Linked DNA regions of Homo sapiens: regions 1 and 3 are each linked to region 2. Evidence: promoter capture Hi-C in human tissues and cell types (Jung and others, 2019). All regions are on one chromosome and are shown on one strand. Each heading gives the region's core, a stretch centred on a gene start or on the middle of the fragment in contact. The rest is flanking DNA. Distances are from core to core; before and after follow the strand shown. Region 1 overlaps NCOA1 (nuclear receptor coactivator 1). Region 2 holds the start of ITSN2 (intersectin 2). Region 3 overlaps NCOA1 (nuclear receptor coactivator 1).

Evidence for each region. The method cuts DNA at HindIII sites, captures the fragments that hold promoters and counts their contacts. A contact is called where the count stands out against the background at its distance.
Region 1: a fragment that was not itself captured here is called in contact with the fragment with the promoter of ITSN2 in region 2 in 2 of the 25 tissues and cell types used here (psoas muscle and spleen).
Region 3: a contact is called between a fragment that was not itself captured here and the fragment with the promoter of ITSN2 in region 2, in 3 of the 25 tissues and cell types used here (dorsolateral prefrontal cortex, spleen and thymus).

What each region holds. Positions count from the first base shown.
Region 1 is chr2:24,613,161-24,617,858 of GRCh38, forward strand. All of the region lies in intron 3 of NCOA1 (nuclear receptor coactivator 1), which reads left to right. Among named protein-coding and RNA genes, the nearest start is that of NCOA1, 120 kb to the left of the region's middle. RefSeq lists an enhancer at 186-235. The HindIII fragment of the contact is 5,058 bases long and covers 1-4,328 here.
Region 2 is chr2:24,358,838-24,363,202 of GRCh38, forward strand. ITSN2 (intersectin 2) reads right to left here and starts at 1,699. Exons shown (of 40, transcript NM_006277.3): 1 at 1,467-1,699. RefSeq lists silencers at 1,113-1,512, 1,523-1,572, 1,583-1,882 and an enhancer at 1,983-2,132. The HindIII fragment of the contact is 6,107 bases long and covers 278-4,365 here.
Region 3 is chr2:24,495,956-24,500,354 of GRCh38, forward strand. All of the region lies in intron 1 of NCOA1 (nuclear receptor coactivator 1), which reads left to right. Among named protein-coding and RNA genes, the nearest start is that of NCOA1, 6.9 kb to the left of the region's middle. The HindIII fragment of the contact is 5,514 bases long and covers 1-4,399 here.

The DNA.
Region 1 (4,698 bases), core at 550-3,049, 250 kb after region 2:
CTTTGCTTCTATAGCCTATGTACTTCTTTGGGCAGATTTTATATTGGGCTGTAGGGTTCAACCTACAAGCCAGTAGATGGCGCTTACGGGTAAGATCACTTAGCCAGCTGTAGCCAGTGTGACTAGGTATACACTTGATACTTGTTTACAGGAAGAAGCTCTCTGTTGCCTCAGGCATTGGGCTGATACGTGGAGTGCACAGTGGTCTGAGCTACTTGCTCAGCCCCAGGGGAGTGGGAAGCAAGATGAGTGGGGCCAGGCCACCTACAGTCCCCTGATGGCAGGCACAATCACTAACACTGAGGGAGAAGCCAATGGGCAGCCACCAAGCACCCAGAGGTGGTCCTAGGCATGGAGCTGGCAAACCTCCTTGGCCCCAAGTTCTCTACACAGGCAGGGGTGGAGGCCTGAACTCTTAATCCAGGAGAGTGGGTACTCCAGGTACCTGGAGATCTGCCTGGGTGCTGCGTACAGAGGGCCCTGCTGTACCACAATCTCTACACAGGAAGGATGGGGTGTCTCAGGCTAGCAATCCATGCAAATGGGTCCTCTGACTGCCTGAAGCTATGCCCGGGAATGGGGCAGAGAGTGCCCTGCTTTACCATGGTCTTGGCATGGGGAGAGTGGGCTGGCTTAGCCTGCTGATCCCGGTGAATGGGTGCTCCAGTTACCTGGAGATCTGCCTGGGTGTGAAGCAGAGAAGGTCCTGCTGCACCCCGACTTTTGAGTTTTAGGAGTATTCACATAGCATAGATGATTCAGGCACCAAATCCTCATGATGTCTTTGCTAAGGCCAAGAGGTTTTCTTTGATGTTTGCCTTTGAAGGTGTTTTTAATGTTTGAATTTACCCTTTTCCTGGTGTTATTGTCCTTCTTGGGCCCTGTCTTTGTCTGATAGTGTCTTACCTGACTTTCAGAGGCCTAAACTTTTTTCTCAATCCTTTCCAACCCTAGGTTACTAGGATTCATATATGCCCCAGGAGTATCTGGAAGCTTTATTACTTGCTTTTCTGCCTATTGTATCGATTCATTTCCATTCTTTTTTTTTTTTTTTTTTTTTTTTTTTTTTTTGCTATGGGGTTTCATTCTGTTATCCAGGCTGGAGTACAGTGGTGTGATCACAGCTGACTGCATGCAGCCTCAACCACCTGGGGTCAGGGGATCCTCCCACCTCAACCTCCTGTGTAGCTGGGACTATAGGTATACACCACCACACCTGGCTACTTTTTTGTTTTTGTTTTGTTTTGTTTGGAGAGACAGGGTTTTGTCATGTTGTTCAGGCTACTCTTGAACTCCTGGGCTCAAGTGATCTGCCTGCCTCGGCCTTGCAAAGTGCTGGGATTACAGGTATGAGTCATTGCACCTAGCCCATTTTCATTCTTTATATCAGACGTTTAAAATAGAAATGTTTTAAGATCTCTAGCCCAGCATATTCTCATATCTCAGGCAGTGGGAATCCTCTTGGAAAATTTTCAAAAGAATAGTTTCTAAAGCCCAACCACACCTACATGTCAGAATCTCTAGGGTGCAGGGCCTGTGGGTATGTTTAAAAGCCTCCTAGATAATTCTGATGCACTGCAAGTCTGAGAACCACTGACATAGAAAAAGTTATTTCTTCATGTAAACTTAGATAATTAAATAATAACAGCTAGTGTTTATTGAAAATAAGGTAACATATATTGTAAGCATGCACTAATTCTAGCTGTTAGTATTAATATTGTTATATGCTAGGCTCCATTCTAAGTCCTTCACATATCTTGTCATTTATTATTCACAAGAATCCTATAGCTACCACTTGTATTCCCATTTTAGAGATTAGCAAATCAAAGCACAGAGAAATTGAATTATTCAAGTTTATATAGCTAGTGGGTAGCAGAATTGTTATTTGAATCCAAGTAGTCATTCTGATTCCAGAGCATGTAATCTTAACCTACCATCTTTACAGTCTTCCAGGTGATTCACAGAGTTAATTTTATTGATTCCCAAAGGGTTTGTGACATTACAGAATATAGCAAGAAAAATATATTTGGATAAATTATGTATTTATGTTGATTTTGTGTAGGTATTGAGGAAGCAGAATAACACAGTAGAAATGGCCTCAGTTTACAGTCAGATAGACTTAGGCATGAATCTCTGCTCAACTGCTTGTTACTAGTAGCTATGAGAAAGTAAATTATCACAGACCTCTTATTATTTTGTTGGTAAAGGAGGATAACTATTTTTACTTCATGGGGTTTTTGAAGAAATAACATAAAATAGAACCTGTAATATATTGCTTGGCACACAGTAGATGGTTAGTATCAGAACTTAAGGAATCCTCTAAGAAGTTATGTTGGCTTCTCTGCAGGAGATTGTAGTAAGCCTTAGTCTAGGACGTTGTTGATGGAATAGCTGATGGGTACTGGTCGATGGTGCTGGTGGGGGCCAATGCTGACTGTCAATGTTGAGAATCTAACAAGTGCCAAGCATTGTCCTAGGCTCTGGAGATAAAACGGTGAGTGAGACATAGTCTCACTGCTTTCAAGAAGCTTGCAGTTAACTTATCTATATAATCAGATAGATACATACACAGTTACTTTTTTTGTTAGATGCTAGGACACATAGGAGGGTTACTCAGCCAAACCATTGCAGATGAGGAATGGCTTTCTAGAGGGAAGAGGATGAGAATGTGAGGGATTAGAGTAGTAAGTCCAGATAGGAGGAAAAGTAAAGGCTGGCTGAAATTTGTCATTACTACAAAGGTGTTCCATTCATCCAACATTTATGAAAAGATCAGGGATCTTAGGAAACTTTTATAAGGACAGTGTTAGAATATTAAGAGCCTACTTTTAGGTTCAGTTTTTACTAAAGCAGACAATTTTTCAAAGTAAAATAAAAATGGCACTCTTTATATGTAATACTGAATTTTCTATCAAATAGCACTTTTTGGAGTCTACATGCTTGTTACTTGGTAGCATTGTCACATTAGGTTATACATTAGAGGAAGAGAGAAGAGAAACAAAGGAATAGTAACCTTCAGAGGATGGAAATGATGATTTGTATGTGGGGTGAATTTCATCATGAGTTGTGTCTGCTATTTGCACATTTCCCTTTTCCTACCATCCTTTTTCACAGATGATGAAAAATAATTTGTTACATAGTTACCATAGTACATAGTTTTAATTTGATACCGTTTGTTGCTCTTGTATGGATTTGATAGTTGAGATTTCTTTCCATCTTTCTCCAATGTTCCCAATAAAATAGCATATTAAAAATGCAAGAGAAATACCATTTCTTTTGGCAAAACTGGGAAAAGTGAAAGGGAATGAATAAAGAATTTCTTGGAAGGGGAGGAATGTGAGTCTAGGGGAAGGAAGATGATGTTGTAATGGATAAAATGATATCGGGGATTATAGGAAAATAAATGAAGTTGGTCTTTAAAAATACCCCCAAAACAGAGGCAGCAGTTCTGCATGTTTTGGTAACCTGATGAGTGTGACTTGATATAAGAGTACACTTTTGATCTCCTACTTGCATATCTGTATGACACCTACCTAGAAGTACTGTAGTTTTTTATATGTACTGTAGTCCTGCTCAGGACATGAGCAGTCCCTGACTAGAACTGAGGAAAGTAGAGCAGTTAGTGTGGGTATTTGGAAACATTGGAAAACAGTTGTTAGGGGACTTAAGCTCTTAATCCCTGAGGATTTAGCAGAGGCTAGAAAGAGGAAGGGAAAAATGAAATCCAGTCTGTAAAAAATTGATTCTGAAAGCGATACTTTGGAAAGTTTATAAAATGAGGTCGAAATTGTGAACATAGACATGTTTACTGTGATGACAAATCTTAGTATACTAGGAGTAGCCAAAACCTTGGATGGAGAGATACAGTTTTAGACACCACCCCTCAAAAAGAGACTTTATAATACTGTCCTACAAACTTACCATCAAATACTTGTTTGCATCTTTATGGTATGAAGTTGGGGAGGATGGTAGAAATGTTGAACATAAAAGCATGTTGCTCCAATGACTGTGGTGTTGTTGGGGTATGTTGAATTTCAGGGCCCTTTGAGAGAAGAGTATTCATGCCTAATTGGGGTTTAAATTTTAGCAGACTCTTCATTACCTTTGGGCACTTTTTTCTAAGAGTTTGTTGTGATTGTTTTGGCAGGTACAAAAATCCTTCTCGAAACTGAACGTTATGATCTCTCCACCTCAACTTCTGCTGGTTTTCCTTTTACCTCTATCCATTTTCTCTCTTTTTTACTTGTTCTTCCAGCTGTAACAGTGTCCCTCTTGAAATATTGCAGTGCTTCCATAGTAATCCATTCTCTTCTCTTTCTGCACACGTTCTGTTGGTCATCTCATACACTCCACTATCATTAATGTGTTAGTGATTCCAGAATCCTTTATATTCCACTTCTTTGAAAGTCATCTGAACATATCTTCTTGGGTGTCCTGTTGCCACCTCATGATTAATGTGTACGTAACTGAGTTAATCAGCCTCTCCCTCAGACATCTGTTATCTCCCATAAACTCAGGCTTGGCTAAATGGCATTAATGAGTCCCTCATGCCAGGAACCTTGGTGTTCATAGGAGCTTATTCAGAGAATATAAACAAAGTTTTAGCCAGAAGATGCCTCATCACAGTACCTGTATTTTATTTAATACCAAAAAACAAAAAATTGGAGCCAATCTGAAGTCATAATCACTGCATTTCTT
Region 2 (4,365 bases), core at 449-2,948:
ACAATGGTAACTCCCTGCTTAGTAATTCTGTACAGGTCAAGTTTTCTTGGACGAGTTTACCTTTCATTACAAAGGTGGGCACAGGGAATAGTTATCAATGCATGGAAGGGTGAAAAAATGCAAGCTTTTCAACTGCTTATTAATATTACATCAAAATAGCAGCAATGCACATTTTTTCCACGTTTTCAAAAACATAAAATACATCCACTTTATTTACTTTTGAAATTACAAGAGAGTCACAGGCACAGCCAAAAAAAGCTAAAGGAAAACACATCAGAGTTGTCAGTATCTTTAAATTTGGAAGGACGTCATTATTAATTCGCGTAAATGTTTTATGCGATGTTTCTAGGTAGCTTTTAGGTTTTATCACTGATTAACAATATAGCAAACCAGCACAGGGAGAGAGGCAATTTTTCGAAACGCTTAAGAAGCTTTAAACTACAAGAGCTATGCTACCTAAACTGAGCTCACTAACAACGTAAAATTTCAAGTCACACCTTGCCTATTTCTGAGTAAGCAAGCAAACACTAGTGAGACAAACTAGAAGCATGGAGCAAAGCAAGTCATTTCTATGCTAACCTTAATTCCTATCGTAAAGGGGTTGGCTCCATCAAAAAATATTCCTATTTCAGTATTAACACAAGTTTCAAATAAAGCACACTTGCCATTGGTAATTCTAGAGCGACAAGGCGCATAATTAATAAATCCAAACGGAGCATCTTTCTATAGAATACAAAGCCATCTGCAGTTTCAGCCTCGGTTTACCCACTCACTATGCATATGCAGACGTCTTTAAAAATAAATAAATAAATACACAAATAAACTTTATCTGGCCTGAGAGATTACATCTCTCGGTGCTTCCTGTATATTCTGGAAGTCAATAACGCTGAAGGTAAATTTAACATTTCCAACTCCGGAGGAACGCGAGCGGTAGACGCCAAGCATCCGCCCACTGTCCTCTCGTGACTCGGGCTACTTTGACGCACCGGGATGCGGCTCACCTGACATTCGGCACCAACCCTTGCCAGGAAGGAAAACCAACTCCGCGAAAATAAAATGGGTCCCCGAGGAGGCGTGCGGGTGCCCCCAGAGCTCTCTTCTGCTCACACCCCGAAAGCGAGGGGGCCACGCCACCCCCGACCCTCGCCGGCGTCCGCCACCTGCCAGACGAGGCCGCGGCCAGGGACCCGGGCTCGGCCGCAAGGAAGGGGCAGCCCAGCCCAGGCCCCCTCGGCGTCTGTCCCGGCCCGGCAGCAGAGGAAGGAACCCGGGGCCGGAGGTTTCCGCCCCGCACGGCCGAGCCCGCCAGGGGCCTAGCTCGGGGGCCGCCCGTACTCCCGAGGACCCGTCCCCATCGTGCGGAGCGCACAGCCGCCTCAGCCCGACCCGCAGAGCCTCCGGGCAGCGGGCGCGGCGCCCGCACCTGCCCCGCGCCTTGCTGCAGCCCCGCTAGCGGCTTCACCCACCTGGCGCCCTCGCCGCGCCTCCCGCTCGTCACAGCGCGACTCCGCGTCCCTCAGCACCGGCAGCCTGGGCGCGGGCAGGCGCGGGGAGACCCTGCTCTGCCGCCGTCGCCGCCACTGCAGCTGGCTTGGTCGTCAGGCCGCCGCCCGCGAACCTGTTGCGTAGCCTGTCACAGCCGCTCAGGGCTCCGCCGGCGCCGCCTCAGCCCCACAACAACATGGCGGCCGCGGCCTCCGCAGGAAGCCGGGGGGCGGGGAGGTAGGCGCCGGGCCGGGCAGCTGACGGCCCGCCCGCTGCCGGGCACCGACTCCCCACCCTCCGGAGCCCGAAACTGCCCGGGCGTGGCTCCTCGCCCCAGGAGTTCCGGGGCATTGAACCCTGAAGGTCTGCTCCGAGTCGGTCGGGTCCGAAGCGCTCCTCTCTGCCCTCGGGGAGGCCCCGAAGCCCCAGACCTGGCAGCCCTTCCTGGAGTTGCACAGACCCACCTGGCTCCTCCTCCCCGAGGTAACATGCTGAGCTTGGGTGGTGCTTTTCCTGCCACGGCAGACGCCGGGGTTTTGGAAAGTCCCAAGCAGTGCCTGCCACATCCCTGTTGCACCCACCACGGGGTTCTCCCTGGAACCTTCTCACTCGCCGAAGTTTTCTCCACTGATCTGGGGGAACGAATTCTCTGGGAATTGGGGGGTGGAAGGTGGGAAGGAGGTTGATCCCACCCTTGCCCATGGGTCTGTTACAGGCCTCTTGAACCCTTCTCAGGGACCTGGAGGACTTAACCATACCCTCGGTCATCCATTCACCATTCCTCGCCCTCCTCCATAACACACGCGGAGCGCCCACGAGGAGCACCCTCTACGCTAGTCACACTCCGCCGAGCAGTAGGAAGACTCTGTCCCCATAGAGCATAGCACGACGAAGCTAAACTTTCCTCCCCACCCCTCGCCAAGGGACAGGCGAAGCTCCTACTCAGAATTTGTCTCTTTTCTCCCCTCCCGGTTCCTGGTCTCCTCACAAAAGACCAGACTTCAACTCAAGCCGCCACCGTATCCCAAAACCCCAAAGGTTTGCCCTTGACAAGAAGCTTCTTCAAGGGGAAAGGCTTTCTTTTGATTGGGGTGAGGGAGGAGTTAGTGTTTCCTAATGAACGTAACCAAATGTCGGCCTGGCACAGTGGCTCACGCTTGTAACCCCGGCACTTTGGGAGGCCGAGGCAGGTGGATCATCTGAGGTCAGGAGTTGGAGACCAGCCTGGCCAACATGGTGAAACCCCGCCTCTTCTAACAATACAAAAATTAGCTGGGCGTGGTGGCGGGCGCCTGTAGTCCCAGCTACTCGGAAGGCTGAGGCAGGAGAATCGCTTGAACCTGGGAGGCGGAGGTTGCAGTGAGCAGAGATTGCACCACTGTACTCCAGCCTGGGCGACAAGAGCGAAACTCTGTCTCAAAAAAAAAAAAGTAACCAAATGTAAGACTCAAGATTTTTGGATATAAGACCCAAGATTTCTTTTTTTTTTTTTTTTTTTTTTTTTTTTTTTCCTGAGACAGACTCTCACTCCGTTGCCCAGGCTGGAGTGCAGTGGCGCAACTGTGAGATCTGTGCTCACTGCAACCTCCGCCTCCCAGGTTCAAGCAATTCTCCTGCCTCAGCCTTCCAAGTACCTGGGATTACAGGCACTTGCCACCACGCCCGGCTAATTTTTGTATTTTTAGTAGACACTGGTTTCACCATGTTGGCCAGGCTGGTCTCAAACTCCTGACCTCAGGTGATCCACCCGCCTCATCCTCCCAAAGTGCTGGGATTGGCGTGAGCCACCACGCCCGGCCAAGACCCAAGATTTATTTTGGCTTTTAGAAGCAGGGTGAGGGCTGGTCTGGGGTCCAAAACTCATATCCCTTGATTTGATCTGTGTAGATCAAATAACCCCTGGCATCCTTTCATTCCTTACCTGTTGAGGCAGGTGAAGGTGAGATGGCTCCAAACCCAGGCCTATCTGAACTGGCCAGCCAGCTTAGGAGGAATTTACCAAACATCGATGATGATAAACAGGCTTTTCCCGCTCTCACACTCAGTGTTTTTCCTAACTCTTCGATTAGAACCTGACCAAGACCTGACAGACAGGTCCTGAGCTTCAGTGACACAGAGAAGCCTGACTCTTTTATCAGTCTAGGAGGCCCCTCACTTGCTGGGGACCAGCCAATCTGTCCTTATCTGCAAACAAACCACCCAGGCCAAGGATAGCAATCTTGAGCACGTGGCCTCATTCCCATTGCACCCTTCACCAGTTAACTGATATGCTCTTTTGGAGCCCATATTTGAGAGTCAAAGCCCCAGAATCCTTCACAACATAGTGCTCCAGAGAGTTGGTCTGAGAGGTAAAACCTATTTTTTATTCCTGTTAGGCACATAGCTAGTCTTCATTTTTCTCCCATCCTTTGACCAATGTCATTTGTGTTTTCGGGTTCTAGACCTGGTGCAATTTACCCTGAGTCTCCTTTCCTTCTAAAGGAGGTGCCAAATCCTTGGCAGGACAAAAATGGAATTTGTAGAAAGAGATGCTTATAAAGGAATAAAAAAAAATTTAAAGCCCCCCTAAAATAAACCAAAAAACTAACAACCTCTGCTGGAAATCAGGGTCCTGAATGCATGCCTACAGTATCCCAAGTACTAAAACAACTGTATCCCAGAGTTCCCTTCAGAACTTTGAGGCCAGTTTGTCCATCCTGTCCTACTCTATCACAGCCCAAAATGCAAGCACCTCCAGTTATCTATCTTCTCTCTCACACATACCTCCCACCCTGTGTGATTCAGGGATAAATTTGGGCAATATTAAGCATTTGGTGGTTGGATATAAGGAATGAGAAGGAGTAAAGGGTTCTTGGGTTTTTGGGTAATGGTAGTTCTATT
Region 3 (4,399 bases), core at 1,492-3,991, 140 kb after region 2:
CGCATTCTTTTCTTTGTAATTTCTCAAATTTTTTCCTTTATTTCTGGTTCTGCAATCTGGTCCTCCTGTCATTTGCACATGGAGTAATGGGAGTCACATTGACTCTGTGGGCCTGAGTTTCTTTATCATTAAATGAGCATGTTGGTCTAATTTCACATTTCTTCTTGTTTTAAAATTCTGTGATTTGTAGGTTTATAGCTGTTTGCTTGCATGCATTTACCTCTCTAATTTGTCCTACACATAATGCTGAAGAAATTCCCTTCTAAAAAAATTTTTTTATGTTATTGTTTTCAGAGGAGATTTTCTGTGGGCAAATTTATCAAATGTAAATCATTTAAACTGATTCTTTCATTTCCCATTCCAGAAAATTTGCTGTAGATGGCATATGCAGAAATACTTCGCAAACTGTAAAGTGCTACGCAATGAAGAAAGTATTATGATAATCATAGATATCTTGCGTCTTTGCTTTTACATGTTCCATTTTCTTCATTTAAATTGGATTTCCTTTATGTTCTCGTGACCTTCAAAAACAGCATCAAAGCTGGTATGTTTTCAAGAAAGCTTGATTTTTATCACTCCCTTAGCATTAGGTACTCTGTTCTGTATAATAAACTTCTCTTTCTCTCTCTTTCTTTTGAGAGAGATTCTCTTTTTAGTGTGTGTTGATTGGTTTTCCTAAACAGATTGGAAAACGCTTGAGATGCCAGGAACTACAACATTTAGAGTTAAAGAGCCTTAAATGATCATTTAGGACAGCCTTCTTAATATTACAGCTGAGCAGACTAAGTCCATGCAGATGTAGTTGGGAATAGGGTTTCTTTATGAGAGTTACTTTTTGTATTTAAAGTTACAATATTACAAAGATATTTTAAATAATAAGAATTCCTGTAAGCTTTTGAGTAATGTGTAAGCTAGGAGGAAAGGAGCATTTTTATTTTTTGACCAAAATATGACTCTCAAATATTGTAAAAAGGTATTAATTAGGAATTAATTAAGACCGTTTTCTCAAAAACTACAAAAGTACCTGTAGAAAAACGTCTGCTTTTCTTGTAAGGCCCTCATTCATAGTCAGCAAATATTTATTGAGTGTTGTCTCTGAGCCAGGTACTGTGCTAGCTCTACATATTACATTTTATAAATGAGGAAACAAGGCTCAGGGAAGTTAAGTGGCTGGCGTAAGATTGCACAGCTTATAGGTGTTAGGGATGACATTTGAGTTCAAGCCTACTGAGTGGAAATCATATTCATACCTTTCAATTGGCTTCTCTTCAAGCATGTTCGTCACACTTGGCCACATTATACTTTTTTTTTTTTCTTTCTGGACTTTCTTTCTCTTGAATACCTGTGTTGTGGAGACTCCTGCAGTCTTGTTCCTTTCTGATGACCCGGGAGCCATATATACCAGTTACTTGATGAAAATGTCACTTTAAGATTCTTGTGGGCTGGGCGTGGTGGCTCACATCTGTAATCCCAGCACTTTCAGAGACCAAGGCAGGCAGATCATGAGGTCAGGAGTTCGAGACCTGGCCAATATGGTGACACCCTGTCTCTACTAAAAATACAAAAAATAGCCGGGTGTGGTGGCGCAAGCCTGTAGTCCCAGCTACTCAGGAGGCTGAGGCAGAAGAATTGCTTGAACCAGGGAGGCGGAGGTTGCAGTGAGCCGAGATCGCGCCATTGCACTCCAGCCTGGGTGACAGAGCGAGACTCCATCTCAAAAAAAAAAAAAGATTCTTGTGCTGTTTCTGGTCTCACCTTTGTACTTCAGTAATGTTGATTCTTTGGTGCTTCTATCCAGGTAAGGTTATCTTTGGTTGGTTTTGGATTCTTAGCCATAAAATTCTGCCTCTCAAGTTTTGTTGGTATTTAAATAGCTAAAGCTTAGTGTGGTTTGGTTTTGTTTTTATTTTTTTGGAACAAATTGCTTGGTCATTCTCTGTGTTTCCACTTGTAATTTGAATGGTTGATTTTATCTTAAAATTCCAGTTTGCCTATATAGTTAAAACATTTACATACTTTTATTATCAAGCATAGATTTGATTATTTAACAGTAGGTATTCTATTGTGAATGTATGTATGTATATAAACATATCACATCATATTTGACCAGATAGTTGAAGGATGAAATGTCCTTGAGTTTTGAAAACATCTGTATGTGTAATATTGACTTTACTTTGGTGAATTTGTTTGTAAGAAACAAAAAGTTATTTGTTCTGCAATGTCTAATATCTCCCTCTCCATTCTAAATGGTACAGGTAGTCTGTAATTGAATTTCTAAGTAGCTACTCAATCATTCGGTCAAGACGTAGTTATATGAGTACGTACTTTGTTCAAGGTGCTGTGCTGTAAAAAGATAGTGGTTATTGGGAAATTAACCGATAAAATATAGATCCTGTTCTTAAGCAGATTATGACCTGAGAGAGGTGATAAGACAAACATACAAATACCTATAATAGTAATTGAATGTGATGAGTGCTGTGAGACAGGTCCTGAAACAGTGCTTTGAACATTCAGGGAGAGGGAATGATTATTGTATTTTCATTTGAGAAAAATCAGGGCAAGTTTTATGGAGGACTTGGTGGTAGACAAAAGCATTGAGGGCAGGGGATGATTTCTTTAAGAATAGAGACAAGGAGAACAGTATGTTCAGGAAGATTAAATAGCAAAGATGAAAAGACGGAGTAATGCAGGGGAAAGTGCAAGGAGTGTGGCATCAGCTGAAGTGGGAGAGGGAAGCATATCGTCTAGGTGTAGTAAGAAAACATTGGTGGATTTTAATGGAGGGAGGTGGTGGGGAGCAGTATGTAGTAAGTATGTAGATATGGATGAAAATGAGAAATGTCAATTTTCCAAATTTACGTGGATCTTTTCTTGGCAGGTTTTATACCCCAAATTTCATATTTTTTGTTTTTGAAATGATTCCATATGTAAGGCTTACCCACATTGGGAACTTATTCACTCATTTTTATGTATATTTAAACACAGATTATATGGTTTTTTTTTTGAATAGAAGTTGGTACAAAATCTTTTTCACTGCCTTATACTTTTTTCGAATTAACTTTTTTGTTTTTTACTTTTGATTATGAATTATGCCTTAACCTACATGTGATATGAGATATGCATATTGCATGATACTTGCCCAAGAGTTAGCCAGTTGATCCAACATAATTTATTAACATATTCATTTTAATAATTCCCTACTATTTTGAAGTCTACATTTTGATGTTTCTATACTCCCTTTTTTCTGATTCTGCATTTCTTTATTCCAAAAATAGATACATCTATTTAATATGTGGCAGTTCCTTACTGTTTTATATATTGTTACTGATAAGGAAAATCCTGCCATCAACCTTAAAAAAAAATTTTAACCTCCCAGTGATTCTTAGATGTTGATTTGAGTTTATTAAATATATAGATGAATTTTGGACCAACCAGGATTGCAATATTCCAACATTCCTCCAGCATTGTTCTATGGCCCTTTGTTTATCAGATCTAATTTCATGCCCTCTAAATGTGCTTTATATTGTTCTTAGTGTACTTCTTTTCCATTTTATCTTCTATTTCATACCATTGACTTTTTTTTTTAAGCAGTAAGTATTCTTTTAAACAGTGTATTATCACTTGGCATTTTTTAAGATGATGCAGTGGACTTGTTTGTTCGGTGTAAAAATGTCTCTTTGTATAAATATAAGTGTATCTGACTGTATAAATGAGATTGGTCATACAAGTTGGAAGCCCCTGGCTCTCATTTATAGTTCATGATTTATTTTACTGATTTATTTATGCCTTGCCATGTTCCAAAAAGGATTTAAGGCAGGATGTGTCTTGAGGAGTCTTGGACCTTGTTCCAGCCCTGTCTATTATTTGACTGATGCCCCTAGCCAACGTTACTCGTTACACGGAGGGAACAGTGTTGAAGACAACTAGTGTCACTGAATGTGCTGTGGTGTGTCTTTTGCCAAACTGGTAGTAATTCAGAGATGATACAGTGTAATTGGGGTACCTTTAAAGATAAGTCCTTTAAACCTTGATAGCATACAACAGAAATTGGCTGGAAGTATCCCTTCAAGTATCCCTGCTGGGTAGGCTGATAAAGAGCCTTAACTCTTGGGACCCCAGGCACTTTTAGCCCGGTAGTTTCTTTTTTTCTTTCTTTCTTTCTTTTTTTTTGAGAAGGAGTTTCGCTCTTGTCGCCCAGGCTGGAGTGCAATGGCGCGATCTCGGCTCACTGCAACCTCCACCTCCCAGGTTCAAGTGATTCTCCTGCCTCAGATTCCCTAGTAGCTGGGATTACAGGCATGTGCCACCATGCCTGGCTAATTTTGTATTTTTAGTGGAGACGGGGTTTCTCCATGTTGGTCAAGCTGGTCTTGAACTCCCAACCTCGGGTGATCCGCCC